2 separate regions of the Homo sapiens genome follow, and region 1 is linked to region 2. The links are contacts of gene promoters, found by promoter capture Hi-C in blood cells and fetal thymus (Javierre and others, 2016). All regions are on one chromosome and are shown on one strand. The core of a region is centred on a gene start or on the middle of the fragment in contact, and the rest is flanking DNA. Distances in the headings are between cores, read along the strand shown. Region 1 overlaps LOC101929918 (a long non-coding RNA gene). Region 2 holds the start of HIPK3 (homeodomain interacting protein kinase 3).

The links. The method cuts DNA at HindIII sites, captures the fragments that hold promoters and counts their contacts. A CHiCAGO score of 5 or more calls a contact.
Region 1: a contact is called between a fragment that was not itself captured here and the fragment with the promoter of HIPK3 in region 2, in 1 of 17 cell types (monocytes). The highest score is 5.2, in monocytes.

The regions. Positions count from the first base shown.
Region 1 is chr11:34,043,729-34,048,522 of GRCh38, reverse strand. It overlaps LOC101929918 (a long non-coding RNA gene), which reads left to right. Exons shown (of 3, transcript XR_931177.3): 3 at 3,148-3,936. Among named protein-coding and RNA genes, the nearest start is that of CAPRIN1, 5.6 kb to the left of the region's middle. The HindIII fragment of the contact is 2,816 bases long and covers 215-3,030 here.
Region 2 is chr11:33,255,337-33,260,740 of GRCh38, reverse strand. It overlaps HIPK3 (homeodomain interacting protein kinase 3), which reads right to left and starts at 3,360. Exons shown (of 17, transcript NM_005734.5): 1 at 2,852-3,360. RefSeq lists enhancers at 1,886-1,975, 2,016-2,065 and silencers at 2,406-2,605, 2,676-3,015, 3,276-3,605. The HindIII fragment of the contact is 4,438 bases long and covers 1-4,134 here.

The sequences.
Region 1 (4,794 bases), core at 373-2,872, 790 kb before region 2:
CTCTTTGTTTCAGGTTGACAGAAACCTGACCAAAGTGTGAACTACACTGTTCACATAGCTAAGGCTCTTAAAGTTTCTTAAATTTGTTTTTCCATCATTTTACTACAAGTCAGGAGTAGACATTTCTATCATAATTTTTCCAGTACAGTCTTTTTTATTGTAATTCAATCAATGATTGTCTATGTGTCCATGAACCACCACTAAACTCTAAGCTTTTCAAAGAAAAAGAGCAGTCGTTTTGTTTTTCCATCTCTGGATCCTCATAAGCAATAGCATGCCTGGCACAACTATTTTGTCACTAAGTATTGCCTACTGTATTAACATATCAGTACGGTTTTAATATTATTATTACTATTGGTCCATACTGTCTCTGAATTCTTACATTTTGGTCATCAGCTGAGATAACATCCTTTTCCGCTTATATTTTCCTATGTCCACCTTTTCTTGCGTGTAATATTATGCTTAGAAACAGGACTTCATGTTTTGTAGAGGTACAATATGTTCAGAATAGTTATTTCAGATTTCACGAAATACTGTTGTTTGTTATTGAACACTCTTAGAAGCTACACACTTTACTCAATGTAAAAGTAAACACAGTGGTATGTGCTTGAAATCCCAGCTACTCGGGAGGCTGAAATGAGAGCATTAGTTGAGCCCAGTAGTTCGAGGATGCAATATCATGTCACTACACTCCAGCGTGGACAACAGAGTAAAACCCAGCATCTAAAAAATAAAAATTTTATTTTTATTTTATTTTATTTATTTATTTTTTTGAGATGGAGTATCATTCTGTCGCCCAGGCTGGAGTGCAGTGGCAAGATCTCAGCTCATTGCAATCTCTACCTCCTGGGTTCAAGTGGTTCTCCTGCCTCAGCCTCCCGAGTAGCTGGGATTACAGGTGCATGCCATCATGCCCGACTAATTTTTGTATTTTTGGTAGAGACAGGATTTCACCATGTTGGCCAGGCTGGCCTCAAATTCCTGAGTTCAGGCAACCCACCTGCCTTGGCCTCCCAAAGAGCTGGGATTACAGGCCTGAGCCACTGCGCCCAGCCTAAAAATAAAAATGTTTTAAAAGCAAAAACACCTTGGCCACAGGTACTAAAATCTTTCATATAGTTACTTATATGAATTGTATGTTGTCTTAACATCATGTTTCTATTTCAGTGGTTCCCAACCTGTGGTGATTTTGTCCCTCGGGGACACTTGATTTAAAGGTCTCCTAAGCACCAAATCACTAGCAATGTCTAGAAGTATTTAGTTGTCACAACTTGAGGGGAAGATGTTAATTGCATCCAGTTTGTAGAGGCCAAAGATGCTTCTAAACATCTTACAATGCACAAAACAACACACAATTATTCAGACCAAAACATCAATAATGCCGAGTTTGGGAAATGCTGTTCTATTTTATGAGATAAAAGATGTAGTCACTGGCCAGGCACGGTGGCTCATGCTTGTAATTCCAGCACTTTGGGAGGCCAAGGCAGACGGATCACCCAAGGTCAGGAGTTCGAGACCAGCCTGGCCAACATGGTGAAACCCTGTTTCTACTAAAAATACAAAAATTAGCCGGGCATGGTGGCGGGTGCCTGTAATCCCAGCTACTCAGGAGGCTGAGGAAGGAGAATCACTTGAACCTGGGAGGCAGAGGTTGCAGTGAACCAAGATTGCGCCACTGCACTCCAGCCTGGGTGACAGGGCAAGACTCTATCTCAAAAAACAAAACAAAAAAGTAGTCACTTGTTCTAGCACTTTACAAGTAAAGCTACTCTGATGACACTGGCGCCCCAAATTAAAAATGCCTTTAGAAATGCCTTATTGAGGTGGCTCACGCCTGTAATCCCAGCACTTTGGGAGGCTAAGGTGGGTGGATCACCTGAGGTCAGGAGTTTGAGACCAGTCTGGCTAACGTGGCGAAACCCCGTCTCTACTAAAAAAAATGTAAAAATTAGGCGGGTATGGTGGTGCATGCCTGTAATCCTAGCTACTCAGGAGGCTGAGGCAGGAGAATCACTTGAACCCAGGAAGCGGAGGTTGCAGTGAGCTGAGATCACGGCACTGCACTCCAGCCTGGGCAACAGAGCAAGACTCTGTCTCAAAAAAAAAAAAAAAAAAAAGGAAGAAAGAAAGAAGGGGGGTGGGGCGCGGGTGGGGGAGAGAGAGAGAGAGAAAGAGAAAGAAAGAAAGAGAAAAAGGGGGGAGCGTGGAGGGGGGAGAGAGACAGGAAGGAAGGAAGGAAGGAAGGAAGGAAGGAAGGAAGGAAGGAAGGAAAAGAAAAAAAAGAGAACTAACTGCATTATGCATGTTGCCAAGATGCAAGCTGATCTGTTCGTAGGGTGATCTTGCATCTTGGCAATATGAATAATCATGGTCATTTCAGGCAATAAAGTATTCTGTGTATCAATTCCCCTACTAATACATACAACCACTGTGAACAATAATTTGAGAAAAATAACTTCCTTCAAGGTAACAACTAACTGCTCCATGAATTTTGGAAGGAATAAAACTTTATGTATCTCAGTTAATACATACTAGGGGAATATAAGTATAGAAGTAATCAGCTTATTCAAGATTGTTCCTATAGCTGGTCAGGATAGTATTATTTCAAGAATAATTTTCACACCTAACAGCACAACTCCCCCTATATTAATGGTTTACTCTTTGTGTGTTGATAACTTGTTTATCTTGAGAGCCTGAGAACTTGATTTAAAGGTCTCCTAAGCACCAAATCACTAGAGATGTGAAAAATGTCATGAGAAGATGTAGGTCCTGTGTTTGTTTTTTTCTTGCATAGATTTTCAGTGGATGTAGAATTTGCAAAGGAGAGAGCCCTACCCCCCACACCCCAATTCTCGTCTTTGATGCAGTGCTTCCCAAAGTAGGCAAGGACCACCAATTTCCAAATGACCTGGGGTACTTGTCAAAATGAAAATTCCTAGACTCCCCCCCAGACATTGCCTCTACATCCCAGAATCTGAAACCTAGGAACATCCATTTAAAAAACGAAACTCCCCTTTGCACATTCAAGCTTGTGAATCTCTGCTCTATAGACGTAGAGTGTACATGCTACTCATTTTCACAAAAATAAGTGCCAAAAATGTTCAAAAACATCTTCTTTTCATGGTATCTTCCTATCTTTCCTCCCAGGTAGTGCTGTGACAGTGTCTTAAGTAGGGCATGTTGATAGATGGAAAAGGACGGCAAACTCGAGGTGCTGATTCAGGAAGAAGCAGATTCCAAGATGGAAGAGAAAATATCGAGAGAAATATGCCGAGAGAAGAATCCAGGCAGAATGGAATCCAGGCAGAATGGTGAATGGAAGGTTCGGGTGACCAAGAGAAAGGAAGGGTGACTCAGCAAGTCTGTAGTTTCAGCTCTTGTATAGTACGTTATACTTGAAAAGCTGAAGCCTTTTCTCGGGGAAGAGTCAGAACGGCCTGGAGGGCTTGCTAAAGCGCTGCTGGCTGGGCCCCGCCCGCTGAATGACTAATGGAGACTCTGAGGGCCGGCTGGTAATTTGAGTTTCTAACAAGCCCTGTTTCGATGCTGGTACAGCCGATCTAGGGAAAATATTGGAACAAGGAAAAAACTAAGAAGAAATTTTAAAAAGTAATCAAAGGCGGCCAAGTGAGGTGGCTCACGCCTGTGATCCTAGCGCTTTGGGAGGCCGAGGCGGGCAGATATCTGAGGTCAGGGGTTTGAAGACCAACATGGAGAAACCACGTCTCTACTAGAAATACGAAAACTAGCCAGGCGTGGTGGCTAATGCCTGTAATCCTAACTAGTCAGGAGGCTGAGGCAGAGGAGTCGCTTGAACCCAGGAGGGGGAGGTTGCAGTGAGCCGAGATCGCGCCACTGCACTCCAGCCTGGGCAACAAAGACTCCATCTCAAAAAAAAAAAAAAAAGTAATAAAAAATGACAGTAGTGTACTGTAATATGTATGTTTTCTGCTGCTACTTTTTGTTTTGCATTTTCCTCTTAAAGAGACCAGAAGATGGCTGGGCTCAGTGGCTCATGCCTGTAATCCCAGCACTTTGGGAGGCCGAGGCAGGTGGATCACCTGAGGTCAGGAGTTTGAGACCAGCCTGGCCAATATGATGAAACCCTGTCTCTACCAAAAATACAAAAATTAGCCAGGCGTGGTGGCAGGCGCCTGTAATCCCAGCTACTCGGGAGGCTGAGGCAGGAGAACGGTTTGAACCCGGGAGGCCAAGGTTGCAGTAAGCCAAGATCACGCCATCACACTCCAGCCTGGGGGACAAGAGTGAGACTTCGTCTCCCAAAAAAAAAAAACCAAAAAGAGGGCAGAAGAGAAAAAATAGAAGGAGATATTGGACATCCTAGTCATACCCCATTTAGACTTTGCCTACAGAGGACAATGAAAGAAGGCAGCAACCTTTTCTCTGGGCCCTCCTTGTCTAAACCAAATGCAGATCTGGCAGCCCTATAGTATTGCAAGATCATATTCCTTGGCGTTCTTTGGAGCTAGAGCTGGTGGTGTTTCTCCTCGTGAATGCTGTGCTAACATCCACCTAAAGCGGAAAGAAGACAGTTCTTTAGGATAGCTAGGGCTGATTTGATGTGAGAAAAAGAAATGATGGTGTGACAAGGAATGCGTTTATGCAGCCTTTTCACAGAAAAAAAGTATAAATTATAATTAAATATTTTTAAACCTTCATTTTTAAAAAATTGCAAGAGTAATACAAGTTTATTGCAAATAATTTAGATAAGTAAATTATGCAAAACTAAAACAACAGCTCAGTGTGTTGTATAACTTTTATTGGGCTCTAATT
Region 2 (5,404 bases), core at 2,111-4,610:
TTTCCTTAGAATATCTTTGAATCTAAATATTACCATGACATCTTTTCATCTCCAAACTTAAATGTGAGGTTCCAATGGGAACTACATTTTTATGCCTTTGAATTAACCACCAATAGTGCAATTCTAATTTACCTTATCATCATACTTGGTAAACTGTTGCTATGAAAATAACATTTAATAAGTTAACTCTCTTACCTGGTAAAATAAAGTTAACTTCAAAAGTTACCAGGATAAGTCGTACTAGCATTCAAATAAAAAATAACATGCAAACAAGCATTCCATGAAATGGATGTGAATCAGGTCTGAAAAATAATATTGCGGCATTCTGAAATTTACATTTTCCCTTTCCTCCTTTCCATATGCTTTCAGGTTCATGCATCAAATATTAAAAACAAAAGTTCAATCAAAAAATTAATTTGATAGCTGCTGCTTTTTTAAGTTGCAGGGGGTGCAGGGAGGCTCTCCATATCTTGCATTAAACATAAAAACCTATGTGCCCACGCCATACTTGCAACAGCAACCTACGTCTGTAATTTACACCCTATTTTATGGTATCCAAAAAGTTAAGAGTATGATCTACAGCTTCTTTTCAAACATGTTTACAAGAAGAAGTATCTCATATAAACCATCCATTTTAATGTGACTCTAAAATCCCATGCCCAAAAGCCAATGACCAGTTTATAAGCAAGGTAATGACTAGTTCAATGGAAAATATATTTTGACAATAAACTAAGTAAGGCTGACTTATCATGTTATGATCTGCTTGCCTAATATGTATGTTTAGCTACTGTAGTCAGCAATGCCCAAATATAAAGTTGAAACATTTAATGGCCAGTTCTGTTCTAGATTTCAAACTCATCTTACTTTTTTACAACAGTTTTAATCTAAGGTTCTCCACAAATACTTTTTTCTTAGAAAAGAGATCCCCTTGGGGCGGGGGGCGGGAGGCAGAGGGGGGGATTAAGGAACAAATTTTTCCATAAGTACAAAAAAAAAAAGACATGCCCAAACATCACAAATATTTCAACACATCTCTGCCTTAACATAAATTTTAAATAAGTAAATTTCAAAAAAGAAAAATCTCAAACAGGTTAAGCATTATAGTTCAGAAATAAAAGTCCTCTACACTTTATGAATGCAGCCATAAATACACCAAGAAATATTTCATTGACTTAAAACTAAATAACTGTATCTGGCTGGTAAAATTGCAATTACTGATAAGTGGCACGAAAGCATAAGATAATCAATAAAACTATGAAAACTTTTTTTACAAAAGGTCAGTCATATTTTGTTTACTTAAAATACTAAGTTTAATCATGACCTATCTAAACCTTATCATTGCTCATTGTATAAAATTAGCACTGCACTTGCAAACATAAGCAGAATCTAGACTTATCAAACATATGGTGAGACTTCACCAGCTTCTGAAAAATTAAATAATATAGGATTAAAATGTCTTAGTTGGGTAAGCAGTAACCACCGTTACGGCTCAAGACTTTTCATCAAAAATTTGATCAGAAAGGAAACCTCTTTAAAAATTTTAAAGAGCCCAGCAACTAAAACTTTGAAATTAACTGAGATGGTTTGAATGAATATAAGTACTCCCACTTCAGAAGCTACAGCTAAAAGCAAATACCTAAAATAGCAAAAAGGGAAAAAGTGTCAGCAGATCTCCAAACTACTAGAAAGTACGCAAAAGCACACGCAGACTGGTTTGCCAGCTAACTTTTCCGGCCCTGTACCAGACAGACATCAAAACAAAGTTTACAATAGAGCCAACCATGCGCTTTCCCTCTAAACTGGACGATAAACTGAAATTTTTTGCTGTTGCTAATAGAAGCCCCTTATTATAATTAGAAGCAGCCAACTGACAGGTGGAAAAACAAATTCCCTAACAGGGCAGTAAGAGGTTGTGAAAACACGGTTCAAGGCCTGAACGTGTTACGACTACTCTGTAACAAGTCCAAGGTAATTTACGCACACACTCTTCAGCGCAATTCCTCAAGCAGAGATGAGACGGGAACAACAGGATTCCCCGAGAGCCACATACCATTTTACAACAGCCGTCTCCCTCCCGACAGAGAAACAGACATTTTCATCCAAAGTCTTTCCGCCAGTTCTCCCAGTGCGGCGAAGGGAAGCGGGCGGCAGCCACCGTAACGAGAGAAGCCGGCAACAGCCCCGCCGCGCGGCCGCCACGCCTTCCTCCCGCCGCCGCTGGGGACGCGGAGCCGCGGATCACATTTCTCCTCCCCAACAATCACACACACGCACGCACGTCCCCAGAGTTGACACCCTGCAAACCCGCTGCTCCGCGACGCTGGGGACGGGGCCACAAAGCCCGGGACGCGGCCATCGGCTGGGGTGCTCAAGCTGCGTGCCTGCGCGTTTGTTTGTTCCCCTTAATGAAAGGAAAGGGATCTCCGTAGTTACGGCCTAGGACTGCGGAGGGGGAAGAGAGGCTCCCCGTGGGACTAAACAAAACTTCGGTTGCTGGGAAGAGCCGTTGCGCAACCTTGGCAGGGGGAGGGGGGGCCGAGGCCCCCGGGCCCCGGCCAGGCGCGGCTTCCCGGAGGCTACGGCCCCCGCGTCCGGCGGCCCAGGGCCTGGCGTGGCGCCGGCTTCGAGGGAGCGGCTCATACCGGGCCACACTGCAGGGGCTAGGGCGGAAACTGGGAGCACGAGAGCGCTGGGGATGCGGATGGGGCACGGGACGCGCAATGAGTGCGGGCTGCGCCGGAGGTGTCGGGCCAGGCCCGGGTCAGGCTTGGGGTCCGCTGGCCGCGGAGCCCGCAGACGGAGCCGATCCCCCCACCCCGGGGTGGCGGCGCCCCTCGCTCGACTCCCTTACCTTCCTAGAGGCCCGCGCTCTCTCCTCTTCGGGCGGCCGCAGCCCTGAGCATGTCCGGGGTGGGGCGCAGGGCCGTGCCGGGGACCGGGAGCCAGGCGCTTCAGCAGGCGGCACCACCCAGCCCGGGCTCAGCCCCTCTCCGCGGCCGCTGCCATCTTGTCCTGGCGGCTGAGAGGAAACGGCGAAACACCCTCCCCCGACCGCTGCTGCTGCTGCTGCTGCTCTGGCTGCTAAGCGCCGGGCCCGTCTCCCTCATCTTCCTTCCCGGGGATTTGGGGTGGGGACGGCTTGGCTAGGGCGAGGGGTAGTGGGAGGCCGGTCGGCCTCCGGCTACTGGGGCCTACGGGCGACGCAGGGTGCGGGGCCCACGGCGATTGGGGCCCATTCCTGACGCCCCGGCCGGGAGCGGAGAAGGAAGACTGGCGGGAGTGGTGGCGACGGCGGGGCCTGCGGCTTGATCTCCTCAGGTCGCCGCGATGCCGGCAGTCGTCACTGAGGCAGCTGCCACCAGCCGCCCCAGCCTCGGGCCCCTCCTCCGCGCTCGTCGGCCTCGGCCACCGCCTCCGCAGCGCCACCGCCCGCCCGGCAGCGCTGCGCGCCCAGCCCGGGCGGCTCCGCTCCGCTCCGGCCGCGGCGCCTCCGTGAAGCCCCTCCCCGGGGTCCGCCCGCCAGTCCGCAGCCGCGCCCTTGTTGCCCGGAGCCCGCCTGCCAGCCCGTGCGGCCCCAACCCGGAGTCCCGCAAGCCAAGCCTCCCGCGAAAGAAGCATCCGTCAGCCCGGCTCTGCTGTTCTGAACCTCACTCCATGCCCCCTCCGCCAGAAATACACATTTTTAAAAAAGATCCCAATACCCGAAGAAAGGATGAAGATGCGGAAGCAGGATTTTACAGGCCTTTCGAGATCCCGGAACCGTAATTAAGGATCTGTTTCTCGGCATTTGGTCGTTAAAGGTCCCAAAATAAGTAAAGGGGAAATGCTCAAATGAACGACCTCAATCTAAACTAGGTTCTACCCGCTCCCCTATCCCAAAGAGTGAAGAGAATTGTAAAGCCAGGTTCAAGGACGGGGGAAGGGTCCTCTTGGAAATTTTAAGAGCATCTCTACTGTCCAAAACCCCATAATTGTGAAGTTCGCCCACCTCCACATTGGTAATTCTCCGTTAAATTAGTCGGTTTAACTCCCAAAGACTAGTTTCTTTCCTCCTGGAGATTAGGAAATCAACAGAATGGCCTGTTTCAGCTTACATAATCGTGGAACCATAGAATTTTAGGAATGAAAGAAGCTTTGCGATCCTTGGTCCCAACTCTTACACTCAGGAGTTCCAAGAAGTTTAGGTGACATGACCAAGGTTATACAGTAAAGCCCATGTCTCCCACCCCATCTTTCCTCCTTTTCCCTAGGAAACAAATGGCTTTCTAATACCTCACATTCAGAGTTGATTTTCTTTTATACCCGTTTCCTCAGGTTCCCTTTGTTCTGAATCAATGTCTAACCTTTTGGGAAACAAACACCTTTCTGGAATGGAAGTGTCCTTTCTTTGTTTCCTTCATAATCTTCACTAGCAAGATTGAATTTACCAGAGATGTATTTATTCCCAGAAATTTTCTATTGCAGTAACTGGGGCAGGGCAAAGGGAGTGGCAAATTGCTGCATACATAATACACATTTAATCCCTGCTGCTCTTCAAACCGGAAGATGAGTATTTTGGATAATGCCTTTAAGAGACAAAGGAGGCCGGGCGCGGTGGCTCGCACATGTAATCCCAGCACTTTGGGAGGCTGAGGCGGGTGGATCACCTGTGGTCAGGAGTTCAAGACCAGCCTGGCCAACATAGTGAAACCTGGTCTCTACTAAAAATGCAAAAATTAGCTGGGCGTGGTGGCGGGCGCCTGTAATCCCAGCTACTCGAGAGCTGAGGTAAGAGAATCGCTTGAATCGCTTGAGCCACTGCACTCCAACCTGGGCGACAGGGAGAGACTCTGTCTCAAAAAATAAAATAAAAGAGAAAGGATAGTATGCCCTGAGGCCACTGGAAATAACACTTTCGAATGACAGTTGTTTTCAGGTTAGAGAGGATAACCAGCTGAAAAGGCTTCCAATATAGAAGAACAAAACAATGGCTGCCTTTCAGAGAGATAGCCTATGAACCATTCCTTTTCACTTAGTATTTCGTTACTTTTTATTTTTCTTAAGAACAATAGTCAAAAGAATCAAAGAGGATAAAATCATTTACTCAACGGAGAAAGCTACAATAGTAGAAAAATCTGTCAGGAGGAACAGAGAAACTATTCCACTAGAACTTCAAATTTCAGAATTTTTGCAGACATTTAAGGAGGCCATCTCTAATGGAAGGCTTCCATTCCCTGTATTTGCTACATCCATGAAGAGATGGAAATGAGAGACAAGGATTTATTTTCCTTTCTATCTCCTGCATGTTGCTACTCACTACACTATATATTCCAGGAGGGGATTCATTCATCTTTTTTTTTTTTTAGATGAAGTCTCGCTCTATTGCCAGGGTTCAAGCAATTCTCCTGCTTCAGCCTCCCGAATA